Regions from separate parts of the Homo sapiens genome. Here region 2 is linked to region 1. The links are contacts of gene promoters, found by promoter capture Hi-C in blood cells and fetal thymus (Javierre and others, 2016). All regions are on one chromosome and are shown on one strand. Each heading gives the region's core, a stretch centred on a gene start or on the middle of the fragment in contact. The rest is flanking DNA. Distances are from core to core; before and after follow the strand shown.

The links. Contacts are between HindIII fragments. The CHiCAGO score rates a contact against its expected background, and 5 or more counts as called.
Region 2: a fragment that was not itself captured here is called in contact with the fragment with the promoter of GALNT17 in region 1 in 1 of 17 cell types (fetal thymus); the score reaches 5.1 in fetal thymus.

The regions. Positions count from the first base shown.
Region 1 is chr7:71,128,927-71,135,195 of GRCh38, forward strand. It overlaps GALNT17 (polypeptide N-acetylgalactosaminyltransferase 17), which reads left to right and starts at 3,218. Exons shown (of 11, transcript NM_022479.3): 1 at 3,218-4,114. The coding sequence starts at 3,877. The HindIII fragment of the contact is 4,375 bases long and covers 1,630-6,004 here.
Region 2 is chr7:71,627,641-71,634,168 of GRCh38, forward strand. All of the region lies in intron 6 of GALNT17 (polypeptide N-acetylgalactosaminyltransferase 17), which reads left to right. Among named protein-coding and RNA genes, the nearest start is that of MIR3914-1, 320 kb to the left of the region's middle. The HindIII fragment of the contact is 614 bases long and covers 3,955-4,568 here.

The sequences.
Region 1 (6,269 bases), core at 1,968-4,467:
CTCCAGTATCTTTTGCAATGCTCAGGGTTTTATGAGAGTGAAGGCTTTGCCTCGCGAATTCTAGCAAGAGTAAATGAGTTGGCCAAACCTCTGTAGAGAGATGAGTCCCTGGTTTCCCTTGGCGAAACTCCAAGTATTTTAACTCCTGTTATGGACTCAGATGAGATGCGATACATTTTTAACAGACAAACAAAGGGGACAGAGTCATGTCAAAGGCATATGTTATTTGAACCATGGTTGAGTGAAAAATGTATTTGAAATAAAAAATCCTTGCACAGAAATACCATTGGTCTCTTTCCTTTCAGTTTGCTCAACCAACCAACCAAAGAAACTCTTTTGATAAAGCTTTTGTAGTTAAACTGAGTTTTATGACTGGGAATGGTTTTGGGTGCCATCCAAGATAAATTTCTTCTTTTAAAGTCAAGAACAGATTTATTCTTTGGTGACCGAAATGGGACTGGAACCCAGACCTTATGGCGAGCAGACCACACAGCCACTGAAGTGTAGTTTTGTTGGTTTCAGAAGCAGCTGGTATATAATAAACGTTTAGTTGATTATGTTTTTGCATATATAACATGCTAGGCAGGTCCTTAAACTTTTAGGGTCATTGACTATGTTGAGAATCTGATGAAACTTACAGGTCTTTTCCCCAGAAAAATGTCTATGTAACATGCAGATACACTTTTTCATCTGATTGAGAGCTATTCATGAACTCCTGAAGTCTAGCTAGGGTGTCTCTAGGGAGAGGAGCTGGCTAGGGACATGGAATAGAGCTTTTCAGTAGAATCGAAGGCCCAGGTAAGGTTAGACACCACCAATTGGAAATGCCTGCAGGCTTTGAGATGATGTGGTTTTTCCCTGGGTACACTTGCTCTTGCCTTTGTCCTTGGGTTGAGAAAGAAGAAGGTGAAATTGATTCAGAGTTGGGGATTGCTAGGCTGGGGCAGTGGAAAAATATGATATACATGTGCATGATCCTTAATAGCAGGCCCTATTAGGAATGTGTTTGAAATAAATGACTAACCATGAACTCCAGAAAGAGGAGGGAAGGAACTCCAGAGGGGATAGAGAGGCATGGACACCTGGGAAGGAGAAGGAAGTTGTTGGCTGGAGAATATGTTTGTTTGGAGTTGAGAATGGGAGAGGTAAAAAGCTAGGGAACAGTAATAACAGGCTGGGATTTTAGTGCAGGATTGCAGGAGTGGAAGGCTCCTCTGTGAATACAGGGTTCAGGATGAGGCCATGACAGTGGGTCACTCATTGAGTAGTGTCCAGTGTCATTTTTGAACACAGAAGCTGCCCAGAATGCGTGCAGGAGCTGAGAGGAGGCTCCTGGAGGATGCATGATAAAGCCAAAAGTTAATTTGCATCAGGGACCTCTCTGGCTTTAGAGAAAGCACAGAAATCTCTCTGAAATTGAAATTTGCCTGGAAACTTCTCGATTACTCTGAGGCTGTTTCCTCTACTTTGTTTCCTGTCTTCCACTCCCAAATATGCACACGCTTGAGAGTCAGCCTCAAGCACATACTTAGAGCCACTTACTGCTTCTCGGGCACCCTAGCCCAATGCCTCAGCCTCCCTGGCTTCAGTCCTGCGGCTGAGTGAATGTTCAAAAATTATTTTTGCAGAAGCTTCCATTGATTGTGCTAGCTCCATCTGTAGTGTGGTTATAATAACACCCAACTCAACTGGATACTCCATGAGATGCTCAGTAACCCAAGTTTCTTCCCACACAGCCTCTCTCTTGCCTAACATGTGTGGCTAAAAATCATCCCTTGGGCCTTTTTAACTGTTTTGTGTCCACTTTCAGGTAGATTTTACAAAGCATGCGCCCTGAGGACCCGATTGCACCCAGGCAGAGAATTCCAAGGGAATGAAATAAAAAGACTATTTTTTTGCATATACATTTCTATGTTAAAAATCAAAACTTAAAATAATACACAGGCAAAAACAAAACAAGAAACCAAGCCCCAGAAAAAACCAAAACAACCGCAAAAACAAAAACAAAAACTTTAATGAGATCAAAATGATGAGGGGAAAACGATCAGCTCCATTTAGCTTTGCTGCCCGATTTTTATTAGTTGGCGGCCTGATTTCTATTTTAGACCCAAGGAATTAAATGGATCAACCGGGGTGGGGGGGCGTTGAATTCCAGTATTTCGAGTTCCTGGGTTTTGGGAAGAGGAAGAGGTAGTGGAAAACCAGGAGCCAAATGAATATGCTTCTTATAATAAAATTTGAACAGAGCAGCGGGTGGGCCTAGAAGCAGTGACTGGGGAGGTTAGAATTCTTGCACGCAGAGAACCCCCCCAAGCCCGCTCACGCCCGGCCTGGCTCCGAAGGTCTCAGAATCCGAGCCTCCAGGCCAGATTTTCCCTCTAGCCATTCCTGGCCACGCAGCGCGGAGCCGCGAGCACACAGAAAAGGATGTCTTCATCGCCAACCGGGATGGAACGAACCCGCCCGCTCAGGGAGTACTGAGAACTAAAGGGTCCCTCCAGCGCCGGCCGCAGCCAGCATGCCTTGACTGCCTCCATCCCGCGCGGTCCCCACTCTCCAGAAGCCCCCGCCCTGCCCGGGTGCGCGCGCGCACGAGTCGGCGAACCGGGGAGCTGTGCGCTCGGCAGCCTGCGGGCGGCGGCGGCGGCCGCCGACAGCCTCTCGGGGACAGGGTGGCGAAGAGCGGCGGAGGAGGAGCTGGCGCCGCCGCCGCTCCCCTCGGGCCGCGCCCCGCCCTCCGCCGCCACCTGCGCGTCCCCTCCGGGCTCCTCAGCTCCGGGGCTGTGTGGCTCTCGGTGCCGCAGCGGCGGTGTCACCGCGTCCGCCAATTGGGAGACTCGGCGTTTTGGCTCCCGGGGGCGCGGGACGAGCCGCGCGGCCGGATCTGGCGAGCGGAGGGTGATTCGGCACGCGTACCTCCCCGCCGCGCTGCCCGCGACGTTTTGGGAGGGGGTAGAGAACTGCTGTGACTTTTGAGGTCCGACTCCTTCCGGCCAGCCTCGCGACGCGCCAGCTCCGAGACAGGCCGGTGTGCCCTGAAGGCCCCGAAGGCTCTCGGCGCGGTTTGGGGGCTTGGAACGTGTCCGGGAGCCGGCGGCGCTGTGAGCGCTGGTGAGTTTGCCGGCGGGGTGGGGTGGACTCCGCGCGGGGGGCGGAGAGGACGTAGCGCTCGGCCCGGCGCCCGCCCCCTAGTGCTGCCCCCACTTTGAGAGTAATTGAGACTTGAGCGTGACTGCGGAGCCTGGAGGATGCGGGCTCCCCGAGCGGGCTTCCCCTCTGCCCGGCGCGATGGAGCGGGTCGGTGAGCGGAACAAAGGCGCCTGCCCGGGGGAGCGGGTCTTCCGCTGAAGAGCGCGGGTGGCGCGCCGCGACGGCCGCCTGCGGGCCAAGGTGGGAGGCTGTGCGGCCCCAGGCGCGGCGCGCTCCGCCGTGGGCGGGCGGCGATCCCTGAGTCCGGCACCTGTGCGCCGCTCCCTCTGTGCCTCCCGGGCAGCCCCGCCTGCCGGCCTCGGAGTCCGCGGCGCCGGCGGCTAGAGGTCCAGAGGCGAACCACTTGCTGGTGCAGAAGAGAAACCCTCAAATCCCTGGCCTTTCGCGGAGACGCCTGGACGGGGCCGTGCGCCGTGGACTGAGCAGGCGTCTCGGGGAGCACTTCTGCAGAGCGAGGACTTCCATGTGAGCGATTCCGTTCTCCCCACCACCAATCCGACCTCCCAGCCGTCTCCGCCGCCCGAGCATCCTTGAGGTGGGACGAGCAGGGGCTTGGATCCCTGCCGGCCGTCTGGTGTGTGAGGCTTGCACGGCCCCTGGCTGCCCCGCGCCTCGCCGGAGCCCGAGGGGGCGCAGGTCCGGGGCGAGGGCCGGCCGGGCTGTTTGATGGCTTCACTGAGAAGAGTCAAAGTGCTGTTGGTGTTGAACTTGATCGCGGTAGCCGGCTTCGTGCTCTTCCTGGCCAAGTGCCGGCCCATCGCGGTGCGCAGCGGAGACGCCTTCCACGAGATCCGGCCGCGCGCCGAGGTGGCCAACCTCAGCGCGCACAGCGCCAGCCCCATCCAGGATGCGGTCCTGAAGCGCCTGTCGCTGCTGGAGGACATCGTGTACCGGCAGCTGAATGGTAAGGACGCACGCCGGCGCCTCCGGGGCTCGACGCGGGCGGGCCGGGCACAGGGTGAGCCCCAGGGTCCTTGCGCGCTGCGCCCTGTGCCTGGGAGCCGGCACACCCTGGCTCCCGCGCGCTCCTTCTTACCCTTCCTGCCCCGTTTCGGGCAGATGGCCGGGGCTGCTGGAAAGAACAACTTGCCTGATTCTTTTCTGTGCCCCACCTGCAAATTTGGTTTTATCCTGGAAACATGTCAGTACAGTTGGCTCCCGGTCCCCGCGTGCGGACTGGAAATCATTCCCTGGCGACTCCAGCCCGAGCGCAGAAACTAGTGGAGGGGCCACATGGGACTGGAGGCGCGCGGGCAGACGTGTAGGAGGAAATAGTCTTAGAGCCCAGCGTTTGGTGGGGTACCAGTAGGGAACCTGGGAGATTGGAGGGCTTGGATGTCTGCAGACAAAGTCAAGGCCCCAGGTCGCGGAGCTAATGCGCTTAGGTAGTATATGGGAGGAATATGTCATCTGTCTATGAGGCGAGCTGCTCAGCTAAGAATGAGGACTCCTCCCTTCCTGCCGCCTGTGTTTCTCCTTGGGGGCTGCGGAGGGGCGATTGTTAAAGCTCAGGGTGGGCCTGCGAAGTTTCCAGAATGTAGCACAGAGAGATGTGGCATCCCATTAGTGACAGTTGTCTGAATCTGTCCCATCTAAAATGTTGTGCTCAGTACTTCAGGAGAAGAGGGAGACTTTTTATGTGCTCTTGTCACACCTGGGCCAGGTCATTGGACACTAGCTGTCCCCAACGTCAGAGTGAGTGTTACCTACCTGAGTACAGGCAGGTTTCCAGGATGCGTGGGGTTATCCAAGGCAGATACGTACTTAGGTACAGACTACCTCCTCCCTTTCTGAGCTTGTAACTCATGTTCTCAAACGAACTGCAGATAATCACGAAGATCGTGATAATAATAACTGATGGAATTCTTGCTCTGTGCCAGATGCGTGCAAAGACATTACAAGTACATTATCTCACTGTATGTTCACATCTGTCCAGCGAGGCTCCACCCATCCACAGAGGGGAAATGAGAAGACTAAGCGAGGGGAGGTTAACTAAGTTGCCCTGTGTTAAATAAGATATAACTGCGCCCCAAACCTCTGTAATCGGAATAATAATAGAGTCTGGAGTCAGAACCCTGTGTCTGGTTGACCACAGAGCCTGTGCGCTTGACCTCTTAGGCTCAAACTTCTATCCATGGTTTTCCCCTAAGTGAAAGGAGTATTAGGTTTGTTGAAAACAGAAATATGTGGAATTGCAAATACAGACATATACCTTCTCACATTGGAGGATCTCAACTGTCTTCACTGTGGTGGCAAGGGGCAGGGAGAAGGAGGATGGCAAATGGTTCTTTTCAGGCTCACCAAAGGTCCCTGCTGGGTACTGGGGGAGGGATGGGATGGAGGGAGAGGGGTGGTCAGATCTCTGAGCAGGTGAAAGGACGCTGCGGTCTTCTCGAAGCCATTTGACAGATATCCAGGGGATGCCTTGAACTTGCAGGGTATATGGCCTGACTGTCAGGGTAGCCCACGGAAGTTATGCAGAAGCTCTTCTCTCAGGTGTCAGAAATATGGCACAGAATGCGACAAAAACCCATAGTTCATTTCTGGAGGAATCAGAAACTTACGGGGTGGCCTTATAATTTGGGATAGATTCCTGCTGTAGACATACCCATAGGAACTTCAAAGGTTAACCTGGTTTCCCTCATCAGGCTTTTCTCAGGGACACAGGTTAGTTTAGTATCAGTTTCTTTGTTTTATGGTTTTTTTTTTTTTTTTTTTTTTTTTTTTTTTGAGACAGGGTCTTCTCGCTCTGTCCCCCTGGCTGGAGTGCAGTGGTGCAATCATAGCTCACTGAAGCTTCAAACTCCTGGGCTCAAGTCATTCTCTGGCCTTAGCCTCCCAAGTAGCTGGGTCTACAAGTGTGCATCACCATGCCCTTCTAATTTTTTAATTTTTTGTAGACACAGGGTCTTGCTAGGTTGTCCAGGCTGGTCTCGAATTCCTGGCTTCAAGCAATCCTCCTGCCTGGGCCTCCCAAAGTGTTGGGATGACAGGCGTGAGCCACCATGCCTGGCCCCAGTATTAGTTTCAATTAGGAGCATTAAATATTATATAGCTGT
Region 2 (6,528 bases), core at 3,012-5,511, 500 kb after region 1:
ACAAGACCTACTACATCCACAGTATCCACAGTTCTTTTTTTGTTTGTTCAAATCATTGTCATACCCTAACTCTAACGGACAAGGGAAATAAAAGAAAGGTAATTTACAATAACATGTATATTGCAACGCTCCGACTCAGCTATCAACTGCCAAGAACAATGCCCCCCCGCCCCATAGACTTGTACATCCCTCCTGGGCCAGAGCCAGCTCTCCTAAGACCATAACAGTTCTTTTCGAACTATTTATAGCCTGTATCCTTATTAGGAGTGATACGGCTGCCAACAGGGCAATAATTGGTTCTTGAAGGGGGGTGCAAAAGAGTATTACACTTTTATGTGTAAATCACAGATACACATACAGCATGCAAGCAGATATACAGCGCATCTGTGGTATTAAAATTTCATAGTGGGAGCAGGTAGGGGATCTCAGGGGGAAAAAAGTCTAAAAATGCCTCATAGAGAGGTGATAATGAAAAAAAAAGGCTGAGAGACACTGATGTGGAGTGAAGGACCAGATCTTATTTCCAATCTATCACGCAATGATACTTTTATAAAATATAGTAAAAGTGAATTCCTAGAAAAATAAAATAGGAAAAAGAGAAACAAATGTTAAGCTCCACGTTTTTATTATTAGATTCAACCGACATAAATTTGCTCTATTGAATTGCTAGAAATGCTTTTTTTTATTTTTTATTTTTTTAAGACAGAGTCTCACTTTTGTCGACCAGACTGGAGTGCAGTGACATGATCTTGGCTCACTGCACCCTTTGCCTCCTGGGCTCAAGCAATTATCCTGCCCCAGCCTCCCGAGTAACTGGGATTACAGGCGTGTACCACCACGCCCAGCTAATTTTTGTATTATTAGTAGAGACGGGGTTTCACCGTGTTGGCTATGCTGGTCTCTAACTCGTGACCTCAGGTGATCCGCCCACCTTGGCCTCCGAAAGTGCTGGGATTACAGGCCTGAGCCACCATGCCCAGCCAATGTTTTTAAAGCTTATTCAGAATTGGCCAGGTGCGGTGGCTTATGCCTGTAATTCCAGCACTTTGGGAGGCTGAGGCACGTGAATCACTTGAGGTCAGGAGTTCGAGACCAGCCTGGCCAACATGGTGAAACCGCGTCTCTACTCATAATATAAAAAATTAGCCAGGTGTGGTGGCAAACGCCTGTAATCCCAGCTACTCAGGAGGCTGAGGCACGAGAATCGCTTGAACCCAGGAGGCAGAGGTTGCAGTGAGCCCAGATCGTGCCACTGCACCTCAGCCTGGATGACAGCGAGACTCTGTCTCAAAAAGTAAAAATTAAAATTTAAAAAAAAGCTTACCATTTGCATCTGAACCACTGTTCAGACTGTTTTTGGATGGGGAGTAGTCCATGGGCCACGCCCCTATCTGGGGGCACTGAGGGTAGAGAAGCAGGGCCTAGAAGAGGGGTCTAGAAGGGTCAAGAGGAGTTGGCTGGTGGAGAAGAAGGAAAGATTGTTTCAGAGAGAGGACCCTAGCAGAGGCACCAAGCAGGAAGTGCATGGCACCTGTGGAGTGGCCAGTGGCAAGTTAGGGTTCTAGCAGAGAGTGAGGGGGCAGAGGAATAGGGGAGGCCAGGCAGGAGGACAGATCAAGCTGCTCCAGCCAGGAGCCAGCCCACAATCCTGCGGGCTGCATTCACACCGTGTTCTGTTAATAACCAAGTGGAGCTTCATGCTTTGGGGTCATTGAGAATCTGATGACATCTACCTATGCACCCTGTCCTGAAGACATTACAAACTCAGAACATCATCTAACAATCTTGGGAGCTGGTTTTGGGATCCCTTAAAGCTTATCTAAAATCTCTAGGTTCGTTTTTATTTTTATTTTCAGTTGTATTTTGAGACAGGGTCTCGCTTTGTCACCCAGAATCAAGTGTGATCATGGCTCACTGTACCCTCAAATTCCTGGGCTCAAACAATCTTCCCACCTCAGCCTCTTGAGTAGCGGGGACTGTGGGCACTTGTCCCAACTAATTATTTATTTATTTTTGGAGAATTGGGAGTTGGGAGGTCTTGCTATGCTGCCCATGCTAGTCTTGAACTCCGGGCCTCAAGCAATCCCCCTGCCTCAGCTTCCCAAGTAGCTGGGACAGCAGGCACAAGCCACCATGCCTGAATTATATTTTTAAACTTTTTTATAGAGAGGCAGTCTTGCTGTATTTCCCAGGCTGGTCTCTAACTCCTGAACTCAAGCAGTCCTCCCATCTTGGCCTCCCAAAGGGCTGGGATTATTAGTGTGAGCCACTATACCAGGCCAAAGTCACCAGGTTCACAATACCTCCCAAACAGTTGAGCTGATAAACCCTCCTCATGTACTCATTCCTTCTAGTCCATGTTTATTATATCGTAACTTTGTGCTGACTCCAGTACTATCAGGCCTGCCAGATAGACACAGGACTGACACCACCCAGAGATCATTAGCCTGGGATCCAGACATCCAGGGGCAATGCTGAGACTAAAGCCAACTCCTGAACTCAAGCAGTCCTCCCACCTTGGCCTCCCAAAGGGCTGGGATTATAGGTGTGAGCCACTACACCAGGCCAAAGTCACCAGGTTCACAATACCACCTAAACAGCCCTTTCTTCAGGTAACTGAAAAGATGCTCTTACAAGGACCATTAAGGCTCAAGATAAGGAACAGCCTTCGCTTGGCAAACTCCCGTGCCAAAAAAGCCAAGGATAAACTCAGAACATCCAGTCTGGATGAAGGTCTCAGCATTGCCCTAACACACCCATAAGGCCCCCAGTGCACTGATCCCCTCCTCCTTTCCTTGACCTCTTTTTGTCTGGCTGACTCTGCATTTCTATCTCTTTTCATGGACCCTAATGAGTTTCACCGGGTAGCTATGGTGGCCAAGGACACTCAGAACCGGAATTTCATTGATGCTTGTTAGGATTGATACCCATTTAGTGGACAATCTCATCAATGTTTGCATGGAATGTAAAAATCAGCCAGCAAATGGAAACATACCCAGAGAGGCAGCTGGTGTAATTGGCCCTCACAAACACATGAGAAGTGCTCTTCTAAAAATACCAGGGCACCTCATACTGAAAGGCAGGCCAGAGACTGAATTCAGCAAGAGCTGAAAACAGCCAGGACAAAGTGTTTGGATCTTCCAGTGCAATCCGGAAATCATGGAGCTTGATATTGAGGACCCAAGGGAGAAGTGCCATTTCAGATTTAAAGAAAATAAGCAAATTTGAGATAGGCCACGTCGTTAGAATACTACCCAAGAATAGTATGTGTTGATGCTGATAAATTAGGGTACAGGTACTTCAATTCGTTTATTCATTCAGTTGTTCAATGAGCACTTACTGGGTACCAGGCCCTATTCTGGCCCTGGGAATGCAGGAAGGAACAGAACAGATACAATTCCTGCCTGTTGCAGTGGACAATGAGCAAATAAATACATAATTTGGAGAAAGGAGAGAGAGATTGGAAGGGAGAGGGGAGATTGTTTTGCATTCTGTAGCCAGGGAACATTGTGGTGTAAGGAAGTGTTTAAGTAGTAAATCTTTTATTTTTATTTTTACTTTTTTTTTTTTTCTTGAGACAATTGCCCTGTTGCCCAGGCTGGAGTGCAGTGGTATGATCATAGCTCACTGTAGCCTCAACCTCCTGGGCTCAAGCGATCCTCCCATTTCTACCTCCTGAGTAGCTGGTACTGATGGACATGCATGACCACACCCAGCTAATTTTTAATATTTTGTAGAGAGGTCTCACTATGTTGCCCAGGCTGGTCTGGAATTCCTGGGCTTCAGCTATCATCCCTTATTGGCCTCCCAAAGCACTGGGATTAGGTGTGAGCCACCATGCCCAGACTCAGTAGTAAATCTGAATGAAGTAAGGGAACAAGTCTTGTGGGCTTCTGGAGGAAGAATATTCCATGTGGGAAGGATGGGAAATTCAACAGCCCTTCAACAAGAACAAGCTTGGTCCAGTTGAGGAAGAGCAAGGAGGCCACTGTGGCCGGAGTGGCATCAGCAAAGGTGAGAGTGAGAGGAGATAAGGGAAGGAAGGAGGAGGATGAACCATTTGCCGTCATGTAGATCTTGGTGTGTACTCTGAGTAGAATGGGAGCCATGGGAGGGTTTTGAGCTGAGGTGCAATATTGGGATGGTTAATTTCATAGGTAAATTTCACTGGTCGCAGGGTGCCCGGATTAAATATTAATTCTGCACGTGTCTGTGCTGGTGTTTTCAGAAGAGATTAGCATTTGAATGGGTTAACTCGCCCAGCTGAGTTATTCTTTTTTTGTGTGTGTAGAGACAGGGGTCTTGCTCTGTTGCCCAGGCTGGTCTCAAACTCCTGGCCTCAAGCAATTCTCTGGCCTTGTTCACCCAAAATGCTGGGATGACAGGTGTGAGCCACTGCATCCAGCCCTTTAAAGAAGGCTTTAAAGGACCTGAAGATGTTTAGTCTAAAAAAAAAAAGAAAAAGAAAAAAGACTGGGGCTGAGAGAGCCCTTTCTTCAGATACCTGAAAAGATGCTCTTACAAGGACCATTAAGGCTCAAGATAAGGAACAGCCTTGTGTCCGGCCAAGCTTTTCCACTGTGGAGCAGGCTGCTTTTCCACTGTGAGCTTTTGTCCCTGGAAGCAAGGCCCTGGGGGACCACCTGCCGGGTGCCGGGAGCACTGGGATCTGCCTGCCCTATTTCAGGTTGTCCATGCATGCATTCATTCCTGTGATATGGATGGGATTCCCATTGCCCGGTGTTGGGGTTCGAATATTACACAAGATCCAGCCCTAGCCCTCAAAGAAAGGAGAAGGCAGTAGGTGCTCTGATGGGGTGAGAGTGTCCATGAGGGGCCCTGTTCTGACTTGGGTGAGTAGAGTGATATCTACGACCAAGCTCAAAAGCACAAGCACTTTCAGCCGAGCTGAATACATCTAATGCATCTGTGGGTCTGTGTGTGTTGGGGACAAGGATGAGGAGAGAATCTGGGACCACGCTAGACATGGATGGAAAATACAACCAGAATGTAGCAAGTGAGAAGGGCTGGTGGAAACTCCTTCTCTCAGGGCCCAGACCAGGGGGAGGATTGTGAGCCCGGGGAACCTGTCTTTATTTCAACTTCTGACATTTTGCTCACCGTGGATTTTCTGCATGATTTTTGATTTATTAAACATTGCATCAAAATACTATTTATCTTGGCCAGGCATGGTGGTTCATGCCTGTAATCCCAGCAATTTGGGAGGCTGAGGTGGGTGAATCACTTGAGGCCAGGAGGTCGAGATCAGCATGGCCAACATAGCAAAACCCTGTCTCTACTAAAAATACAAAAACTAGCTGGGCATGGTGGCACACGCCTGTAATCCCAGCTACTTGGGAAGCTGAGGCATGAGAATCGCTTGAACCCGGGAGTGGGAGGTTGCAGTGAGCCGACATCGCACCACTGCACTCCAGCCTGGGCGACAGAGTGAGACTCTGTCTCAAAAAAAAAAAAAAAAAAAAAAGAAGGTTGATTATTGATTATTTAGTTCTAGGGGGTGCTTAAATGTGGTTCACAGAGAATGGCACTGGGAAGGTGTCAGTGAAGAAAACATAGTCCCTGCCATTCTCACTCGCCATGTCCCAGGCACAGCCCGGCTGTGGGTTGGGAAGGTTTCCCAATATGGAACACTCTAGTGCAATGTGGGGAGTTTGCATCATAAAATCATAGGATGGGGCTTCAAATCATGGCCTGCCTAACCTGACCCCCTGCAAAGGGGCAGACTGAGGCTACGCAGTTTGTCCTGGGGGCCGGGATAGCTCTCCTGTCGGCTGATGGCTTGGGGAGGATTCTCCCGAAGTCCTTATTCAGAAGCAAACTTCTTTTACCAGGCAGGGAGTGTTAAAGGGAAATGTGGCCGAGGAAATGAATGCGGCTGTCAGTATTTACCGGCTCATTATTTATTTATTTATGTAGGGGATTTCTGTTCTCTCTGCTAATCTTCATATAACATGCCTCATTGCCCTCTGAGGGCCCCGAGAGGATCCTCGCAGCATTTGTAGGGTGGAATTTGTTCTTGAAGCTCTGTTTCTGGTTGCTCATTCCTTGCTTCCTTGCAAATACCAGAGAGGAAATGAGTCATCTCAGAGACAAGCCTCTCACTCATTCCTACCAGCTGCTGGCAAATCCAAGGCGTAATTGGCATTTGCAGGTAGGGTCCAAAGGAAAAAGCACATTTTTTTGCTTTCAGTTTGAAGTCATGTGCTCAGCGACATCAAGCATTGAGAAGGGAGCCAGCCCCGGGCAAGGCAGAGACAAAGGGGGTTGGGGAGCTTGGGTGGAGGGCCCAAGGGCCCAGCCCATGCCCACACACATGGTGTGACTGGCCTCCTGTCTATTAAACTCTCTCTACTACAATACTGTGGTCTTTCTTTATGCAGTGGGCAGGAAGAACCCCTCGGGCAGTGACATCTCTCAAATATTGTACATTGTATTCGACAGGTAATCTTGCAACCCTCAGCCCCCTCCTTCCCTCCCCCTTTTTGGAGTCTCCAGTGTCTATTACTT